2 separate regions of the Homo sapiens genome follow, and region 2 is linked to region 1. Evidence: promoter capture Hi-C in 16 types of primary human blood cells and fetal thymus (Javierre and others, 2016). All regions are on one chromosome and are shown on one strand. Each heading gives the region's core, a stretch centred on a gene start or on the middle of the fragment in contact. The rest is flanking DNA. Distances are from core to core; before and after follow the strand shown.

What was found. Contacts are between HindIII fragments. The CHiCAGO score rates a contact against its expected background, and 5 or more counts as called.
Region 2: a fragment that was not itself captured here is called in contact with the fragment with the promoter of ETNPPL in region 1 in 1 of 17 cell types (megakaryocytes); the score reaches 5.7 in megakaryocytes.

Annotation. Positions count from the first base shown.
Region 1 is chr4:108,758,113-108,764,993 of GRCh38, forward strand. ETNPPL (ethanolamine-phosphate phospho-lyase) reads right to left here and starts at 4,941. Exons shown (of 13, transcript NM_031279.4): 1 at 4,731-4,941; 2 at 2,076-2,194; 3 at 1,637-1,796. The coding sequence starts at 4,786. The HindIII fragment of the contact is 7,360 bases long and covers 221-6,881 here.
Region 2 is chr4:109,286,176-109,293,543 of GRCh38, forward strand. All of the region lies in intron 3 of COL25A1 (collagen type XXV alpha 1 chain), which reads right to left. Among named protein-coding and RNA genes, the nearest start is that of COL25A1, 13 kb to the right of the region's middle. The HindIII fragment of the contact is 2,330 bases long and covers 1,635-3,964 here.

The DNA of each region.
Region 1 (6,881 bases), core at 3,691-6,190:
TCCCAAGTAGCTGGGACTACAGGCACACACCACCACGTGCAGCTAATTTTTGTATTTTTAGTAGAGACAGGGTTTCACCATGTTGGCCAGGATGGTCTTGATCTCTTGACCTCGTGATCCACCCTCCTTGGCCTCCCAAAGTGCTGGGATTACAGGCATGAGCCACCACGCCGAACCATATTTCGTTTTTAAAATAGGAGTTTCTACTATATATCTATAAAGCTTTCCCCAATATAATATTGCACTTTAAGCACATATTTAGACATGCATTTGCAAAAACATACTCCTAAATATCTGCATAATAGTCTATAGAATGGATATATAATGATTTGAATTTACAGAATTTAAAAGTTGGGGCCAGGCACGGTGGCTCACACCTGTAATCCCTGCACTTTGGAAGGCTGAGGTGGGCAGATTGCTTGAGTTCAGGAGTTCAAGAGCAGCCTGGGCAACATAATGAGACACTGTCACTAAAAATCAAACAAAACAAAACAAAAAACTAAGTTAAAAAGTTGAGGCAGCCCGAGGTGCCTGCCTGGAGATGGCCAGCCTGTGGGTGTTGGTGCTGGCCCCAGGGTCCCCACGCTGACCCCGAGGCGCTGCTGGTGGCCCTGTGCATGGCCTTCCAGACCAGCCCGCATCTCTTGGGGCTCCTTCTGGCTGGGCACGGTTGCTCATGCTTGCAATCCCAGCACTGGGAGGCCGAGGCGGGTGGATCACCTGAGGTCGGGAGTTTGAGACCATCCTGACCAACATGGAGAAACTCCATCTCTACTAGAATACAAAATTAGCTGGGTGTGGTGGCGCATGCTTGTAATCCCAGCTACTCAGGAGGCTGAGGCAGGAGAATCACTCAAACCCGGGAGGTGGAGGTTGCAGTGAGCAGAGATAGTGCCATTACACTGCAGCCTGGGGAACAAGAGCGAAACTCCATCTCAAAAAAATAAATAAATAAATGAAAGTTGAAATGTATCTATTTGAGTTTCCTTCTTTTTTCTTTTCTTATGTTTGTATTGGGGAAATATGCTCAATTTTCAACAATCAAAAATCTTTAAAAAGTCTAGCTTGTTGCCAGGCGCAGTGGCTCACGCCTGTAATCCCAGCACTTTGGGAGGCTGAGGTGGGTGGATCACAAAAAATTAGCTGGGCGTTGTGGCGGGTGCCTGTAATCCCAGCTACTTGGGAGGCTGAGGCAGGAGAATAGCGTGAACCTGGGAAGCGGAGCTTGCAGTGACCTGAGATCACACCACTGCACTCCAGCCTGAGCGACAGAGCAAGGCTCCATCTCAAAAAAAAAAAAAAAAAAAAAAAAGTTTTAGCTTGTTTACTAGAGTTATTTCTTGGCTAAAGTTACTCATACACTCATTGAAAGAATATCTTGGCCTATCAATCCTTCAGCTACTTATTGCACTGCCTGAGGAGGTGAGCATCATTTGATCAGTTAGATTCACAGTCGTAGAATAAAGTGGGAGAACCAGAAAGGCTAGGTCCCTAATGTGTGATCACTTAGTGAATGGCAAGAAACTCAGCAAACCCTTTTGGACAAGCTCCACCATGAATCAAAAGGAAAGATTTGTGTGCAAGAGTAGACAAAGTTTAGTGGGAATGGGGAGGGGTGGGAAACCATGAAGCATACCCTGAATTTGTAAAATAACAAACAGAGAGTTTCTCCGGCAGAGTTGCTGAAAGGCGTTTGGCATACTCAACAATGTTGTCGTGGAGGAATCGAGAATTTGTATTTAGCAGTTCCATCTGTTTCAGGGCAGCTTTGACCACTCCTGGGTGACAGTGTCCCACTAAAATTTATGAAACAAAAGCCCAAGAAATAAGTTAGAATTCTAAGTGCCTGGGAATAAGAGGAATTATGAAGCAAGCAAGCAAGCAAACAAACAAACAAACAAAAGTTGAGTTCCTTTCTCTTCCATATTTTGCTGCGATTTTCCCCACTAGGACTACTGGCCCACTCAGCAAAGGAACTGCAGCCACTGCAATTCCCCAAACAAAAATTAAGTGTTCCAAGTCAGCTTTACTCCATGAACATTTCCTCCAAAGCACTGCAAGGACAGGACATTTACCATGGGCAACATTGTTGATGCAGTCCAAGTACTGTTCACCGTTCTCATCAAACATGTACTGCCTCTGGGCTCTCACTATTTTGATGGGATCCGATGCAAAGAAAACTTTGCATGAGGGCCTAGAAATAATCAAAGGAAACACTTTGGTCTGGTAGGACTACTCTCAGTATTTTTCCTTCTCAATGAAGGTCCCCATCAGTGGAAAAGTACAGTTACATAAAGGAAAGGGAAAACACAACCTGGATGACATACATTTCTTTTCATTTCATGTAAACCTGGAAACTTTTATGTTAATCCCCCATTCATGACATTGTTCACATTCCTTATGCTTGTTATATTAAATATGCCATGATTTGACAATTTATTAGAGGCACAGGAATCCACTCTCTGATGGTTCTAATCACACAGACCAATAACTAATTTTCCTTTGAGAAATTTTGTTCTATCAGAAAAAAAATAACCAAGTTTTTTTGGGGGGCTTAATGTGTCAGAAGCTGTTATATATTTTGTAAATATTATTTAATCCTGTCAACAATCCTATGAAAGAGAGGTTATTATCTTTCTCACTCTTATAGGTGAGGAGACCAAGGCACAGAGAAATTAAGTAACTGGTTTAAGGCTACACAGACAGTAAATGAGAAAACCAGAATTTGCAAGTAGGCTGTGTTGTGCTGTAGCCCAAGGTAGACATCTCTGTTTCCCCTTCAATCTAATGTATAAAGACATGAATAGCACTGAAAGCTAAATGCAAATAACCTAGAGTTAAATACTACGCAGGAAGTTTTATAGATTATTTTCATTTTCATGTATTTTGAGTGGTACTTGTCCAGTATCAAATGGATTTTCCATTATTAAATAGTGAAATTCAATTATTCTTCTAAGCATTTAATATGTTTTTTGAGCATAATAAGGTCATCCATACTTTTATTTGGATGAATGGCTGGATTATACATTTTAGCACATAGAAATTTCACAAAGGCTTCTAATCTTGGCTTTATGAACATTTAAGAACTAAAGTTAAATATATTTATTTATTTTGGTGATTTTGCATACATACAAAAAAACCCTCACACACATTGGAGGTAGTTCTAGTAGTAGAAATATACTAAATTGATATGTAACTGTTTAGAAGGAATTTTGATTATTACAAACAGTAGGTAACCTCAAATTTTAAAATTGCATAAGGTTGTGTTATATATTGATTTTTTTTAAGCATCATCAGCTGAAATGAAAATAGTATTTTATAAGAATTTCTTATTGGTTCAAACTCAGCTGTTAGTTTATACCTACAAGTTAAAATCCAAAAAAAAACTTTGTTAAGGATGTGAGCTGAAAGCTGCAGACTTCACATTGCCTTTTTAATACACTTTCCACCTTGCCCGTCAGACTTCAGGTAAAATTCTCCTTTATCCAGTCAGCCCATGGCTACACTCGTGCTTTTAGAAAATTTGTTCTGCTCATGTCAGAAACCATTAGGCATTTACCGGAATCTAACTAAGATTGAAAACTAACGCAGTGAGTGATTAGAAAAAGTAGGGTAGTGATTGATTAATGGGGAAAGAACTGGATTATTTTGATCCCACTTAGCGGCTGAGAGAGATGGAACTAGTCTTCCAAACCACCCAGAAACCCCTCCAGTTGGGGTGAGGAGCTTCAGTCTGAGAAACTGTCCAGCATTCCTCCGAAGAGGATGCGGATTGTTTTCTTCCTTGTAACCCCAAGTGCTCTCTCATGCCCACTGGCCCGGCTGCAGTCGTTCATTTCAAGTGAATATTGCAGACGGTTGACTTTACAGTATTCGGGGTCATTAATCATCATTTATATTTACACGTATCTTTTTAAAAACCACGCACAAAACACTAACATATTAATCTCATCTTCTTGCTCCTGTGAAGTAGAATGTTATTCCTACTTTCATAGAAGAGACAATTAATTTGACAGAGGTCCACACAGGGAATATGACATCCAACGAGAGCTAGAGCCCCTGTCGGTCTTATATACTCACCTTTATATTACTAAGTCGTTTGTGACGGGGGCAAGACAAGCAGGCTGGGAAGAACACAGCTTGGGAGAGCAAGTTGGGTAAGAGGGATCTAAATAAAGTCTCTGCTTTTCTAACAGAAGGTGGTTTCAAGTTTTTCTATTGGCTAGATAAACCCTTCATCACTTAACCAAGCATGCAAGAAGAAAAAGCTCACTTTAAGTAAAAATTGTCAGAATTGGTTTGTTTGCGGAGCCATCATGAAAAAATATTTCTCAGTTCACAGTTTCCAAAAACTTTCGAGTTGTGTGGGGGTGGCGGAGCGCTATCCTTCTTCCACCCATCTCCCATCCCTGGAATGGTGTCTGCTAGGGCTATTGGCCGTCATCCACCAACCCCTCTAGCCGGCCGGCAGCCCCCGCTAGTCCGCCGGCTGCAGAGCGAGCCGGGGACTTTCGAGCGGGCAGGAAGCCCAGCGTTCCGGGTTCCAGGAGCGTTTCTGGGAGTCCGCGCGGCCCCTGCAGGTGGAGGCGCGCGGGGCGCGTGCACAGGCGCGGCGGGCACGGAGTGCGGCTGCAGCGCATCGTTTGTTCCCTAGCCGGCTTTCTCTCTCCACCTTCTGCACTCGTTATTGCCCCCTCTCTGCACTTACTTCCGGGCCAGGGTGCCCTTACCCGATGTGCTTCTTCCTCAGCCCCAGAGTGTCCCGCTTACTGTACAGCTCGCACATGGTGGCGGGGTGCAGGGCGCTGCGAAGGTGCAAGGTGCAAGGTCTGCGCGCCTCCTACGCGAGCCTGGGACTGCCTTGGCGGCCCCGGCCGGCCTTCCTCCCGTTATCCCTCCTGGCGTTCTCTTGCCCGGGGCGTCGGAGGTCACCGGTGGCGTCAACTAGCTAGGATCATCTCCCTTTTAAGTCTGGCTCTGGCGTTGCCCTTTGCCAAGCCCCTCCTCCTCCCCCGCCGGGGCCGCGGGCAGGTCGCCGGGCTAGCAGCTCATTCGCCACCACCCTGTCCTGCCAGGCCGGCTCGGCCCTACCCGCCCCTATCATTCCTCTGAATTCGCCTTTCATTCTCCTAACTTTGCCTCGTCTTTGCTTTTCCTCCTCCTCTGCCTGCGAATTCCCTCCTTCCCACGTTCTTTCTGGTTTCTTTTTAGTGTAGTCCTTTATTTTCTGGTAAAAATTCAGGAGTTAGGCGCTTCCCGGATCAAGACTCACTGCGCAGTCTGATAAGGTAACCTACCATTTACTCAGCACAAGGACGCGTCCTAACGAGAAATAACCCGGACTCAGCCTGTTATCTCCATTGGCAGTGATGATATATGCAGTGTTTCAAACATCTCCTTTAACAATGATTACACTTCTAATTCCTCTAACTATACAACTTACAAAACACATTCACATGACTTATCTTGTTCAGTCTTCAAAACAACCCTGAGAGATGACCACGAGTGTTACCCCATTTAATGAACGGGGAAAGTGAGGTTATTCCCTGTTCTAATGATTATATATCCACTTGATGCTGAAAACGGGACTCATTCTTAGATTTCTTGACTTCCTTCAAGATGGTCTTCTCACACAGATCATATCTGAAGCTAAATATGTGCACAGGTAGAAACTTTTTTTTTTTTTTTTTTTTTTTTTTTTTTTTTGAGGATGGAGTCTGGCTCTGTCACCCAGGCTGGAGTGCAGTGGCGCAATCTCGGCTCACTGCAAGCTCCGCCTCCCGGGTTCACGCCATTCTCCTGCCTCAGCCTCCCGAGTAGCTGGGACTACAGGCGCCCGTCACTACGCCCGGCTAATTTTTGTATTTTTAGTAGAGATGGGGTTTCACCATGTTAGCCAGGATAGTCTCGATCTCCTGACCTCGTGATCCCCCCGCCTCGGCCTCCCAATAGAATCTTAATTAACTGAATCATTAAATCATACATTATTTTAACTAGAAGTCATCTGGTTTAACTTCTCTGCTCTGTAGATAAGAACAGTGAGGCACAGGAAAGGTGAAGGTTTATTCAAGTTCACACAAACACTTAGTCATTGGGTTAAGGATAGGTCATTTTATTCTCTCTGTGTTTTGAAAGGGCAGCAGGGAAAGCCTAATTTGCATGTATCAACACATTTGATAAGTATTTGCAACTGATCTTTCTCTTGAAAAAAGTTATTAATATATATTCATGCACTGCAGGAGGAGTAGAATTGGATTGCCTAAGGTAGAAAGAGAAATGGAGTCCTATGAGGAACAGTGTGTTAATTCCAGATTTTAGGCCAGGCGCCGTGACTCACGCCTGTAATCCCAACATTTTGGGAGTCCAAACTGGGCGAATCACCTGAGGTCTGGAGTTCCAGACCAGCCTGGCCAACATAGCAAAACCCCATCTCTACTAAAAAAATACAAAAATTAGCTGGGCGTGGTGGTGGGCACCTGTAATCCCAGCTACCCAGGAGGCTGAGGCAGGGAGAATTGCTTGAACCTGGGAGGCAGAGGTTGCAGTGGGTTGAGATCATGCCACTGCACTCCAGCCTGGGCAACAGAGTGAGACTCCATCCCCCTCCACAAAAAAAAGAAAAAAAAAAGAATTCCGTGTTTTATAAATGAAGAGCAGGAAGCACTTTGGAGACTTGCAAGAAATCCCAGTTATGTAATCTTGGTCTAGTTCTGTGCCTGAAAGATATTGCCAACTGTATATCTACTCTCAAACCACCTTGACCTGGTGAAGTCATAGTCACACTTCCTTCATAAAACTTTATGGATTCTTGTTGTTAATATTCCCAGTGCCTTAAGAAACTCTGGATTAAGAGTCTTGGGTTCTAGATCTGGTTCTTCCAT
Region 2 (7,368 bases), core at 1,550-4,049, 530 kb after region 1:
ACAGCAATAGACACCTCTGAAGAGAGATGGGATATTGTGTACCACTTTTAATTCAAATTTTTGCATTTTTGTTATATGCATGGAATCATTTAATAATAATAACAATACTATCATCAAACACAAAGAAAGAGTTCAACCTTGAGGTACACCTTGAGCATAAGGCAACAGAAGCAGCTATAATGTAGAGGAAAGAACAGCTTTGATAAAACAATAGAAATAGAAATAAAATTCTTAGGCCCCAGCAGGCACTATAATGGATGCCTCCCGGTGAGAAGATGATCATATATCCTGACTGTTCTGACTACCCTTCATTTCCTGTTCTTCTAAGAGAACTAGCTGCAGAGTATATATTCTTGCCTTTTTTATTCACTGGGAATAAGTAAAGAATGATTCTCAACTGGGAATGATTTTTGCTTCCTCTGGGACATTTGGCAAGATATGGAAGCAGTCTTGGTTATGGAAGCCAAGGAGTGCAACTGGCATCTAGTGGATAGAAACAAAGGATGCTGCTAAGCATCCTATGACGCACAGACCAGCCCCCCAAAATAAAGAAGTAACCAACCCAAAATATCAATAATGGGAAGGTTGAAAATCTATATACCACTGTTACTGAAGGCCACCTAATTCGATCTCTGTTCTCACAACCCAAGGGAGTCTAACCAAGACCCAGAGATTCTGCCTTCGCTAGAAAACATGACCACAGAGTCTGATCCAACATTTAGGAGGGCCAGCAAGGCTCCAATAACTGCCAGAAGGCATCTTGGGGAGGAGTTAAAAATGTGACAGTTGACCTAACAACTGGCAGAGATCATTTATCTCCAGAAAAACCATCTCATTGGTGTGTTAGCAGCATTTCTGCAAAGTATCATAATACACACACACAAAAAAATCCAAATACCAATTTCTCTGATAACATGTTACTATTTTTGAAGTCATGAAAAGTAAACTGGAATTATGAGTTCAAATACCAATTATCATTGTAGTTTTAAGTCCATTAAAATTGGATACGGTTTGCTACAGGCCATACTTTTGTAATTATTAATTCTATTGCAGTCTTCAGTCTGCTTATCTGACACCATTAGTTCTTCATCTAATGTTTAGGTGAAGAAATAAGTAGGGTTTAGCAGCCTACTTATTTCCCTAAACAGTCAGGCATTTGGCACAGGGTTTCACCCACAGTAAGTCACAATAAACATTTTATTAGTTAATTGAATAAAAAAAATTTTTAAAGGCTGCTATATACATGACCTTTCACCTTTGCCAGAGTCGACTGGCATTAGGTAATACCAGAGGTCAGTTACCATCCACAATATATCATTTTTAAATACTAATATCTAAAATGTTTAATATTTATAATTAGTCCCTCCTCTACCTAGTAGTAGGAGACAACCAGAATGTAACTTGCTTTTAAATGAAGATAAATATTTCCCTACAAAACCCACCAACCCACCTGTAGTTTCAATGGATTCCCCTCACCCATAGCCCCTATTCTGACATACTTTCTTCCTAGAATGTATAGGCAAGGCCATCATCTAGCTTCAGCCATTCTTCTGCCAGAATCCAAGTTGCCTCAGCCAAAAGGTGGCAGCAACTGAGACAGGCAAGAGCAGAGGAGAGCATCCACATACCTAGGAAGCTTAAGGCCGAGCTGTTTGAGGAGCTGATAAAGTGGGTTGCATGTGGGTAGAAGAGGTAAAGCAAGATCAAACAAGGCAGACCAATGGGAGACATATGGGCCAAGAATAGGCAAACAAATCTTTCGAAGTATGGATTAAAAACAATGTTGTCTGAAGCAACAACACATGCATGAGTAAGATGGGAACTGGCTGGAAGTATCCAAGAAAAAAATAAACTAGGAGATGAGATATCTGAAGTCAAAGCCAGGAGGGCCAAAATAGCAGCGTAAAATCCCAGAGGCAACCATATGCTCATATCAGGCAAATGCAGTCTACAGATGAATGGTTTCTCCATTCAAAAAGTTCCTTCAGTCCTTCCCCTTCCTCAGCCTTACTCAGGCCCAGGAATAACTAAGGCTTTCCTCCTCTACATCTCTTGCTAGTGAAAAAGAAAAAGGCTAGATATTTTTGTAGATTATGAAACAAATATCATTTATGAGCTCAAAATTTTAAATACAGTAATGGAGTTGGTATAACATGCTCTGTTTGCTCTGTTGCTAAATACACACAGTCAAAAATATAAGACAGGAGCATGGAATTGATTTACTCACAAATATTTTCTTTTCTAATCACAATGTGGTTCCCTGCAAAATCCATTATGATCAAAGATGCTCTTTAACCCCTTTGTTATCTTACTTTTCTGGTTTTTTTATATTAAATATTTATAATGGGCACTATTATTAATAGGGTGGTTCCCTGGAAGTACAGAAAAGGGAGAAAGGCTAATGTAACTGCCTGTACATAATTTTCCAAAACACAAAGTGAGGTCAGCAACTCCTTCTTTAACATTAGTGGAACTATTCATTGGTACCTAAATACAGGAAGCAGTGTCTTCCAAAGTGGTGTCTGCCTCAAACAAATTGTCAGTGTTACAATTTTCCATTTTACACTGATGTAAATCACACCAGTAATGCAAGCATAGCAATTAGCACCACCGCATGGGCCTAGCAGATAAAGTATATAAAGTCCAAACTCACAGGAACTGTCTTTTAAATAACTAATTTTAACAGAAATGAAAACATTCAGTCCCCCAAATCCATAGGTTAGGAATATGAAAGGAAACAGAATAATAAACAATCATCATTACTACCAGGAATACTAAATTATATATACACACACACACACACACACACACACACACACACACACACACATATATATACAAAATTTTTTGCTTACCTAAAGAACTGTTTCCTGTGTAGTTGCTTTAGTAATGTAGGAAAAAATTTGTACACCTATGGAAAACTGCATTGTCTACAGTACATCTTTCCTATGTATCTGATTCTGATTCTTTGAGAGCTGTTTTATAACTGTGTAAGTTGTAGATAATTAATAGAAAAACAAAATTACTTTTATCTATAGACATGCAAACTCTGAGTATAACTGACTTCCCACTGTGAAAAAGTCCGTTTTGCCTCCCTTTGTACATCTATTTCAATATTCCTGAACTAAAAATATGTATGTTTTTAAACTCTCCTTTGAACTGGTTATAACACCTTACTAGTTCCTTCTTTAATGATTTAAGTAAAATCTTTAACACTTGTTAATTTTACATCTGTATGAAACTCATAATTTTCTTTTTTGAAATTTATATTTTAACAGTAATTTTTGAGAAAATAATCAGCTACTTTTTGAAATGTAGGAGAAATATTGATATTTGCCATTGATGTTTTCTCAGTTATGCTGCTAAATTGAATCATGAATATAGCTATCACCCAGGAAAGGTCTAGAGGCTTTGGGACCCAAGGGTGATGAAGCTCCAAATCAGAAGCTGACAGTAATCCAGGTAAAGTGTCATCAACAGAATGGAGGCAAAATAGGGGTTCTATCCATGCTAGAGAAAGGGAGGGAAGATAGGGGAGCCCCCTGAGTAGAATGGGGTTCTTATTTAGGAACATAGAACATCCTCTGTTTTTGTAGTTTCATAGCTATATGGCTACCTCCCAAAGACAATCCTGTCCACTCTGCTTGCCAACCACGGATCACGTTAGGGCAATGCTTGTTGATTAAGGGCCTGTTTGCTGTATTTACTCTTGGTTTTTTAGGAATCCAATGAACATTATTCTCATCACATCCTATAATTGTGAAACAGTGTGAATGTTTAAAATGCTAGCAGTATATGATTAAAAATAAACAAAAGTACAGATGTAATAACTTGAAAATGATGAGAAAAAATGATGTATGATACATATATACAGGGGATACATGTTACTGATTATACAATTCCTCTGAGATTTCTTCTTGAGGATTGATGATGGAAGCAAGGGTTTTCTGCTCAAAAAGATGAAAGCTTAAAAGAATAAAACACATTCTGACTCTAATGTGTCATGAACTCACCCACAGAATACAGAAAGTATACCTCAGACTTCTCCATTCAAGGGCATTTTTTGCTATAAAAATAAATGAACCTTTTTTTTAAAATTCCAAAAATGGTAAATAAATTTTACCACCAATATATAGCATTCCTCATATAGAACTTGGTTGCAGAACCAAGCCAATATTCAGGAAAGTGTCCTCAGAAATAGCTAAAGCTTGGATCATTAAATAATTTTGTACAGAGGAAATTATATGCAAGTACATAAAAGTCCTGGTCTCTTTATGGAAGGAATTTCTCAATGCTAGAGGTTTGGGGTTTTTCAAATTAAAAACTTCCAGATGCTTAACATGTATGGTAGTACTAAGTCACACTTGTCAGACTTGCTGCTTAAAATCCTGGGAAATTGTCAGTATGTCTATAGGGGTTGGGAAGGAAATTTAGGAAATACAGTTTGTTTAGTTAAGTCTCTTTTTTTGTAGTTTATAATAGCTTTGGTTGGCATGTATCAGGGGCGTCCAATCTTTTGGCTTCCCTGGGCCACATTGGAAGAATTGTCTTGGACCACACATTAACATTAATGATAGCCAATGAGAAAAAAAAATTGCAAAAAGACTCATAATGTTTTAAGAAAGTTTACGAATTTGTGTTGGACTACATTCAAAGCCATCCTGGGCCACATGCAGCCTGCAGGGACATGGGTTGGACAAGCTTGGCCTATATGGTCTTTCCAGCCTTTCTTACTTGTTCAACTTTCCTATCTTTGTTGCTTTACTGATAGTCTTTTTGCAGAAGACAAAGTAACCAGTTAAAAAAGAAGTCATTTTCTCTTCCAGTCTTCCTTGAAGTCCATACTTTGAGACTGTGTATTAAAGAGAAAATAAATTGCTCATCAACACTTGATAACTTGTAGAACTGCTGTGTCATTCTGTGTCCTACCAGACAAGTGACGAAGGTGCTTCACTTAGCCAAACAACTGTCCACAGCTAGCTACTCATACAGTAAACAGTGCTGCTGATGACAGTGGGCATTCATTTCAATGCGAGGTAGAGTATTGTCTTTCAAATTTTCTTTTGCAGTACTTATTACAGTACGATTGCAGCCAGATTTATACTTTCTATGTGAAATGTATTGTATATCTTGCTCACTATTGGCTAAAATCCTGTTAATTCCTAGAGACTTCTTCCTAGTACTACTTATGTGCAATTCATGTATTCTCATTGTGCCATCAATTTAAATTTCAATATACAAACATCATCATTTTTATACACAACCAAAAATCAAATCAAGTAAGAAAGTCTCAGAGATCTTAGAAGTATCTTTAGAAGATCCTAGAAGTCTTATAACGTATATTTTCTATAAATAACATAATTTAGGGGAGAGTTATTTTTCATATACTACCTTGTGGACTAAATATTAACTATTCATCAAAAAATCAAGTGCTTTAAGTAAATACATTTTAAAAGAATGAATTGCTGTAACTTGGTAATAAAGCTCCATATGAATATCTAGAATTAAAAAATAAGTAAAAATATAAGGGAAGAAATTTGAAGAAACACAGAAAATTGTCATTAAAAGAACAAGAACAATATTGTCACTTGAAGTCTTAAAAAATAAGTGACTTTAAGAAAAAGGATGAAGTGAGATGTAGATTTTTCTAACGAACAGTACCATGCTCAGTTACACAGTGCATTTACCCAGCTTTCCTGTGACACTATTATTACATCAGCTTCCTTGCTAGAATACTCTGACCCATTAAAGAGATGATATTATATGAATAGTCACTTTTAGACTTTAATTTGAATACATAATTTTACTACCATCATCTAGTCATGCTTACAGTACAGTATTTCAAAGATCACTTCTGTGTTGACAAGTGTAAGTCCTCTGGGGCTTGGACTTGCATTAATTTTCTAATAGTGTCCTATGGAGTCCTAAGGTTCTTTGGAGATGCCTCAGGGGCCAGCATCGGGGAGAGAGGTGGGCAGCAGAAAGAAAGCATGGAGGCTATTGGCTTCTGCCTGCTCTAGTCTCTGAGGTCAATCAGTGTAGCTAACATTGCTTCCAATTTCATATTATGGGGTTTCTCATATAATTTCATTTTTAAAAAAGGTTCAGCCTTTTAAAGAAATGTTATAAAATCCCTGTACTAATTAATCTCCGAGATTTGTATTAGTTTTAATATGTTATGGCTCACAAAGTTCTCAGAGAAAATGTTTAAAAGGCATGGGGATGAGAATAGTAATGCATGGAAAGAGATGCACCATATTAAAAGCCTCAACCCACATTTTCAGATCTTCATCATAAACATCTTGCTGTTTTACAGAGAACTTTCTATAGAGAGCTCTACGATGAGCCCTAGAGATACATAGATACAAACCAGAGCCCCTGCCAAGGAGTTCACAAGTGAGATTAGTAATACAGCTGTACCATGAGACCGCTTATCTGGGAAGAGACTGTAAGTATATCTATGGGGGTTTGGAGAGCCCGTAAGTGACACTGGTAGTAGAACAGAATTATACCATGAGACCACTTACCAGTTAGCATGTGTCAGGATCTGCCCACAAAAGTCACTGGATCCTTGACCCACTTAACCCACTTGATTCCCAATCAAGTTGATAACCATCCTGAGAAAAGCAGTTATTTAAGAAGCATTTTTCCATTTGAACATCATCTGCTCTGACCTTGTGCCCTAATTCTTTCAGTAAAAAATGATTTTTAGTGTTCCAAAGTTCACTTAGGAGCCCTAGAACCGGCCAGCATTTCTGGCATGACTTTAAAGTAAAAGCATTGGTTTTTGAATGTGGTTTGTGGAAATCACTTTCATCTTATGATCATATCATATATTATCTTAAAATGCCAGCTGGAATCTGGAGTCCCTGAGATGACAAATTGGGGTTTCATAATTCCTGGAAGGGTAATACAAACAACTTAACCTTTGACAGCTCCCAGCATTGACCTAAGACATCAGAATGCTAAGAAATGGATCAATTTTCCTGACATATTTCACTGTAGCATCTTAAAGATCAAAAATGGAGGTATAATACAAAGCTATAACAGAGAATTCCTCTGGCTCCCTAACTATTGTCCAGAATTATATAACAATAAGAACTCTAAAATATCAAGCTTTCTAAGTATGATGATAAAGAAATATGATTCTGAGAGCTAAGGGGATAAAGGGGGCTTTTTCCTCCCCTCTTTTACTCTCCTTACACGTGAACTCTTTGGTAAACAAGGGAAAAAATAGACTTTACCCCTTCCCTGACCAGCTACTTTTAGTTAGACAGATTCTGACTCTCAATATTACCATAATGTACAAACTAGAGCTGGCTACAATTCATACAATTTACTCAGCCACTTAGCCTAAATGTGAAAATT